Linked DNA regions of Homo sapiens: region 2 is linked to region 1. The links are contacts of gene promoters, found by promoter capture Hi-C in human tissues and cell types (Jung and others, 2019). All regions are on one chromosome and are shown on one strand. Each heading gives the region's core, a stretch centred on a gene start or on the middle of the fragment in contact. The rest is flanking DNA. Distances are from core to core; before and after follow the strand shown.

What was found. Contacts are between HindIII fragments. The study calls those that stand out against the background at their distance.
Region 2: a contact is called between a fragment that was not itself captured here and the fragment with the promoter of SOX13 in region 1, in 2 of the 25 tissues and cell types used here (heart right ventricle and liver).

The regions. Positions count from the first base shown.
Region 1 is chr1:204,071,680-204,074,959 of GRCh38, forward strand. SOX13 (SRY-box transcription factor 13) reads left to right here and starts at 1,436. Exons shown (of 14, transcript NM_005686.3): 1 at 1,436-2,032. RefSeq lists an enhancer at 2,115-2,807. The HindIII fragment of the contact is 26,498 bases long and covers 1-3,280 here.
Region 2 is chr1:204,363,948-204,367,105 of GRCh38, forward strand. It overlaps a transcript of PLEKHA6 not described here. Among named protein-coding and RNA genes, the nearest start is that of LINC00628, 4.2 kb to the right of the region's middle. The HindIII fragment of the contact is 5,440 bases long and covers 1-3,158 here.

The sequences.
Region 1 (3,280 bases), core at 186-2,685:
CTGCCCTACACCCACAGGTCCTTCCAAGACCCATTTCAGATGCCACCTCCCCCAAGAAGTTCCAGTCCCCATATCCCAGTGTCTTTGGTGGCCCTGTGCCCATTTGCCTGCCCTATCTTAGCCCTCTCCACTTCACTGCAATGGTATATTCACCCATTCCTTTACAAAATCAGAATCCAGAAAGGGCAGGACACCGTCTCATTTGTCTTCGTGTCCCCAGCACCCCGGTAAGCCAGGCATAGGTAGACTTTTTTTTTTTTTTTTTTTTGAGACAGAGTCTTACTCTGTCACCCAGGCTAGAGTGCAGTGGTGCGATCTCCACTCACTGCAACCTCTGCCTCCTGGGTTCAAGCAATTCTTCTGCCTCAGCCTCTTGAGTAGTTGGAATTACAGGCATGCACCACCACACCCGGCTAATTTTTGTATTTTTAGTAGAGAGGGGTTTTCACCATGTTGGCCAGGCTGGTCTCGAACTCCCAACCTCAGGTGATCTGCTGCCTTGGCCTCCCAAAGTGCTGGGATTACAGGCGTGAGCCACTGCGCCCGGTCATATGTAGACATTTGATAAATACGTTGAATGAAAGGAAACCAACTCTCCATTCTCCCCCACCCTCCCATATAATGGGACAGGAGAAAATAAGATTTATTTGAGAGGCTGCAAATGACAGGATTAGGGAGTGGTTGGAGATATCAGGAATCCGTCTAGCTACAGGTGAGATCAGGTTTTGTTTTTTTTGAGACGGAGTCTCGCCCTGTCGCCCAGGCAGGAGTGAGTGCAATGGCGCGATCTCGGCCCACTGCAACCTCCCACTCCCGGGTTCAAGCGATTCTCCTGCCTCAGCCTCCCGAGTAGGGGGTTACAGGCGCGCCACCACGCCCGGCTAATTTTTTGTATTTTTAGTAGAGACGGGGTTTCACCGTGTTAGCCAGGATTGTCTCCATCTCCTGACCTCGTGATCCGCCCCCGTCGGCCTCCCAAAGTGCTGGGATTACAGGCGTGAGCCACCGCGCCCGGCAGAGATCAGGTTCTTAAGGGAAGTCCGGAGAAATGGGGTTTTTAAAAAACCCGAGTCCAGGCTATCTGTTTGGAGGGGTTGGGAGGCTTGGAGCTGGACCAATAACTTCTTAGGTCTTGCTTTAAGGAGTGAAGATTCTCTGTAGCGACCCTCATACCTGGGCAGTGGGAGCGGGCAGAATCCTTCTTTCTTCTCTTCTCTACACCCCCTCACTCCACCCCCACCCTTCCCCGCCGCCCGTAAACCTTAGCTTTCCCCTTTCCAACAGAGGTTTCCAGCTGTTGATGCCTGGATGGACCCGGCTGCAGGGAGGAGGAGGAAACTCTCTGTCCCTCCCTTCTTCTGCAAGTCCCCACCCTCCCTCCCTCCTCCCCCTGCGCGCTCTCGGTCTCCCTCCCTCTTTCTCCTCTAGGCTGTCCAGTCGCCTCGCAGCAGCGAGCCGCGAGCGCCCTTCTCCAGTCCCGGCTTGGAACTGAACTGTGTGAGCACGGGTCCTGGAACCCGGGCCCAGAACCGGCGAGCCCAGGTCTGAGCCCAGAGCTCAGCGGTCAGCCTCGTAGGCCCTGACTCGGAATCGAGCCGAGGCGCTGAGGTTGGAGCCGGAGAGCGTGAGAGCCGAAGAGCAGGGAGGGCGGGCCGGCTGCGCGTCCGACGAGTCGCAGAGCAGGACCGCGGAAGGCAGGGAGACGGCCGCAAGCCCAGGGCAGAGGGCAGAGGGCAGAGAGCGGCCTGGCTCGGCGGAGAGGGCGCCGCCCGGCCGGAACCAAGCTCGCCGCCCGGGACGGCGGGCCCCGTGGGGCGCGGACCCAGGGTGGCCGTGGGTCCGCAGCGACTCCCCGGCCGACGGCGGGGGGCGTGCCCCCTCCCAGCCCAGCCTCCCCAACCCGGCCCGCCCGCCGCGTCGCGGGGGCATGTGAGCGGGAAGCCTAGGCTGCCAGCCGCGAGGACCGCACGGAGGAGGAGCAGGAGCGCGGAGCCGCGAGCCCCGAGCCCCGAGCCCGGCGCCTGGCTGAGTAGTAAGTGCACCCCTCCCCGCCATGATCGCGCCGTCGCGCCCATTTCCCCAGCTCTCTGAAGTTTGACACTTGCGCCCCTACGTTTCTGGGCACCCACCGGCTCTCTTCCCTGCGAGTTTCCACCCTGTGCAAAGTTTTTCGAGGAGAGACGGACCCTCACCTACCCCCAACAACGCTGGGCAGTGGCGGCTCCTCCCTGGCCGACTTGGGTCCTTGTGGAGAGGGATGGCAGCCTCTAAGGCAGTGCGTGGCTGTGTGTGTGTTTGTGTGTGTGTGTGTGTGTGTGTGTACGCGCGCGCGCGCGCGCGTTCACCACGCGGGTCGAGCTTAGGGTGCACCCCCAACCCGCTCCTCGCCGACCGCAGAGGACTAGGTCTTTCTCATCAGCCCGACTATGCGCCTAGTTTAAGGATTTCTCAGCGGGAAGCCGAAGCGACCTGCGCGCGTCCTGCGTGGGGCTCAGGTGCCTGCGACGAGGCGCAGAGCTCCTCCACCATGGTTGCGTGGGGTGCTGGGGGACAGACGCGCTCCCCTTGCCACGGTTTCAGGGTCGTTCCCCAGCGGACCAGACCAGCGCGGCATCCTGTTTGTTTTCTGCTCCGGCTGCTCCTGTCCCACCCCCACCCCCACCGCAGGCTGCTTCTTGCTACCCCCACCTCCCGCCCTGGGATATCGTAGGTGAGCCTTTTCATCCCGATTCCGCTGCAAACGCTGATCGCGCCTAGGGGTAGGGAGATGCGGAGCGGGTAGTCGTTCAGTTCCCAGCGGCTCGCCATTGTTTTCCCACCCCGCGCGTTCCGTACGTAAACACACACGCACACACAAGGTTGTGTGTGTGCGCCGGCTCTGGCTGCTTCCCGTCCCCAGGCGCGCAGGGATCGCCCGCGGGATTCGCTCAGCTGCCCGCATGGGTCTTCAGGCTGGAGGCGCTCCAGGACTTAACTGGAGCTGGAGAGGACAAGAGACGTGGGGGTTGCCGGACAGTACCGGGCGGGGCGGTGAGCCGGGCCTGGGCGGGAAGTGAATTTTGAACTTCAGCCCTGGACCTTTCCGGGAGGACCCCGAGCGCTGGAGCGGCGGCTCCCGCCCTGGAGGGCCCGCGGCAGCTGCAAAGACTCCGCTGGCGCTCTTGGCAGCCGCCTCGGTGACAGAGGCTTGGAGGAAGCCGAAGAGTTTTCCTGGGAAGTTTGCTTTGACTCTCTGGGAATTTCCGGGCAGGACGCCTCGGCGCTGGCGCTGGCGCTGGCG
Region 2 (3,158 bases), core at 426-2,925, 290 kb after region 1:
GACACCTTCAAAACCACACGCACACTCGAGCAAAACGTCTGTTGTGGATACCATGAGAGTCACTTCCTAAATACCCTGAAAGAAAGAGCTTTTTGACACACAATTAACACATTTGTCTGCTCCTGGGCAAATGTCAATATTTGCTCATTGAAATTTCCCTCCCTCATCCACACTAAAAGAAACAAAATAACTCCTCCGGTTGTCTGGCTCTTATTATTACTTGGAATCCATGTCTGAAGTCGTTTGAGTTTCTAACTCATCCACCAACCAAATGTCATAAACCTTTGTGGGAACTGTGAAAATAGGAACGAACGGTGAGCCAGTCGTTCATTCATTCACTCACTCATTCAGCAAGAACTTACTGAGCACTTCGTTTGTCCAAGCAAGGTGCCAAGGATGCTGGGAAGCAGCCGTGCCATCATGCTAAGAGCAAAGCCTGTGAAATCAGGCACACATGAGGCCGCCTTCCCGCTTGCTTTCTATTAATACAAGCTTTGTGACATTGAGTAATACATACGAAGAACCAGTTTTCCCATTATTTGCTAAAAGCGGGATGATAGAACCTCCTCATAAAGGTGCGGTGAGGAATAAATGAGATAATGTCATAAAGCACTTAGCTCCTAGAGTGGCGGCTGCTGCTATGATATACAGAATGACCACCAGGTCTGGAAATGTATGTGAACACAGAATTCATGGCTGGTTGATAATTAAACAATATTGCCTGTGTCTCCGGACTTTACGACCCCCCTGTGTTGCCCCTGCCCTTGATGAGTTTTCAGTCTAGGCTACTGGTTCTCGAAGTGTGGGCCCCAGAGCAGCCACAGCAGCATAACCTGAGAATGTGTTGGAAGTGCAAATTCTAGACCCTCTGAATCCGAAACTCTAGGGGTAGGGCCCAGCCATCTGTGCTCCAACAAACCCTCCAGTGATTGTGATACACGCTCCAGTTGGAGAGTTACTAATCTAGTGGAAAATGACACAAGTATAAGCAAATAACTACCATACACGGACACATCCCTGAAGAAGTGACATCATGGGCAGGGCTTGAAGGAAGAACAAGTGTTCTCAGGTGGGCATGAGCCACATGAGGAGAGATTGGCACCTACAAAGCCCCGGAAGCATGAAAGGGAAGCGAATGTTGAGGGAACCACAAGTGATTTGGCAGGGCTAGAGGAGAGGGCTAAAGAGCCAGGTGGGGAGTGTGGGAGGTGAGGCTGGGAAGGGGGGCGGGAGCGAGACTATGATGCCCTTTACGTGCCCAGATAGGGAATTTAGATTTTATCCTGTAAGTGACGGGTAACATGCAAAGTTTTTAATGGAGAATAATATGACCAAATTTGAATTCTAGAAAGAAAGCACTCTTGCAGCATTATGGCCTGGAGGCAGGAAGATCAGTTGGAAAGCTTCTACAATAATGGAAGTGAGAGTCCATGTGGGCCTGAACTCAGGCCATGGCTATGGAGATATCGAGAAGTGGGTGGGTTGAGAGATATTTGGGAGGAGAATTGACAGGACCCATGGGGGAGGCATGAGAGCGGGAAAGGTTGAGGGTATCTCCGAGGGCTCTGCTTTGCTGGTATTTCTAGAAAAGATGGAACCGGCACAGAGAAGCAATGACTTCAAGTCTGGACACAATGAATTGAGGGAGCTCAGAAGAAAGCTCTGGGCTGGTAGCTGAAGCAGAAATCAATTATGCCTGTGTTGTTTGTCTCCCAATGTTTATCATGCATGCATTCATTTCAGGAAATACTGGATTGCTATCATGCACCAGAAAGGTTCTAGGAGGGAGTGAAAAACACAATAGCCAGAATCTGCTCCCAGGACTTACACAGCAGTGGGGGGACCAGAAATACATAACCAAACAGATACATAAACAAACGTGTTTCAGGTAGTGCCAGGTGCTGTGAAGAAAAGTAAGAGTAAGAGTGTGGAGGGGTGGGGGAATTCAGGCAGAGCAGTCAGGCATGGCCTCTCTGAGGAGGTGACATGGGCTAATCGAGAAGTCGGAACCAGGTGTGTGGAAATGGGAGGACAGTGCTCCCAGGCAGGGGGAACAGCAAGCGCCAAGGCTCTGAGGTGGGAATGGGTTTGACATGATGGTGGGAAGGAAAGATGGCAGCACAGCCAGCCAGTCATGGGACACGAGGTCAGAGAGGTGGACAGGTACGTTTCTAGGGACTGGTGAGATGCCGTAATACATGTGAAAGTGTTTAGTGAACAATCTCTAGAGCCATGTACCAAAAGGAATATGAAGATGGTATCTGCAAGAGGGAGAAAAGAAGAAACAATTCACAATTCTTAACTGAAGCAAGAAGCATTTGGGTCCAAACAGGAAAAATTCAGTCTATAACTGTCATGTGATATTAGAATAATTTCCAGAACAGATACTTTGAAAGGAAGACGAAGAAGGAGGAAGAGCAGGAAGAAGAGGAGAAAGAGGAGGAGGAGAAGGAGGAGGAACAAAAGAAAAAGAAAAAGAAGAAAAGAAAGAAAAGAAAAATTTGCTTTCGCTTTAAGAATATGGTTAACAGGCCCAGGCATGGTGGCTCACGCCTGTAATCCCAGCACTTTGGGAGGCCAAGGTGGATGGATCCCTGGAGGCCAGGTGTTCGAGACCAGCCTGGCCAACATGACAAAACCCCATCTTGACCAAAAATACAAAAATTAGCCAGGCATGGTGGTGGGCACCTGTAGTCCCAGCTACTCAGGAGGCAGAGGCACGAGAATCTCTTGAACCCCGGAGATGGAAATTGCAGTGAACTGAGATCGCACCACTGCACTCCAGCCTGGGTGACAGAGTGAGACCCTATCTTAAAAAAAAGAAAAAATAGGTTAGCGGCTAAGCTGATGTAGGTGGTAGATGGTGGCAGATCTAAGTGCTGGCAGATCTTGGCGGTGGGGGATTGGAAACGTAACCCCTCCTAGTACAGATGGATGAGGATTTCAAAGCAGAGAGGGACGGAAAGGGGATGAGACAAGGGTCCTCCCTGCCCTGGCTAGACTGGGGCTCCCTCTGGTGGTGCCATTGCCCCAGGAGGCTGGGCAGAGGCGCTTCACCATCCCTGCAGAATCTGAGGCCAGACCAGAAGGTGAGGCCCACAGGCCTGGGCACGCTGAGCCTCACCCTTGCGAATGAAACCAGATGGAGAGACCCAGGC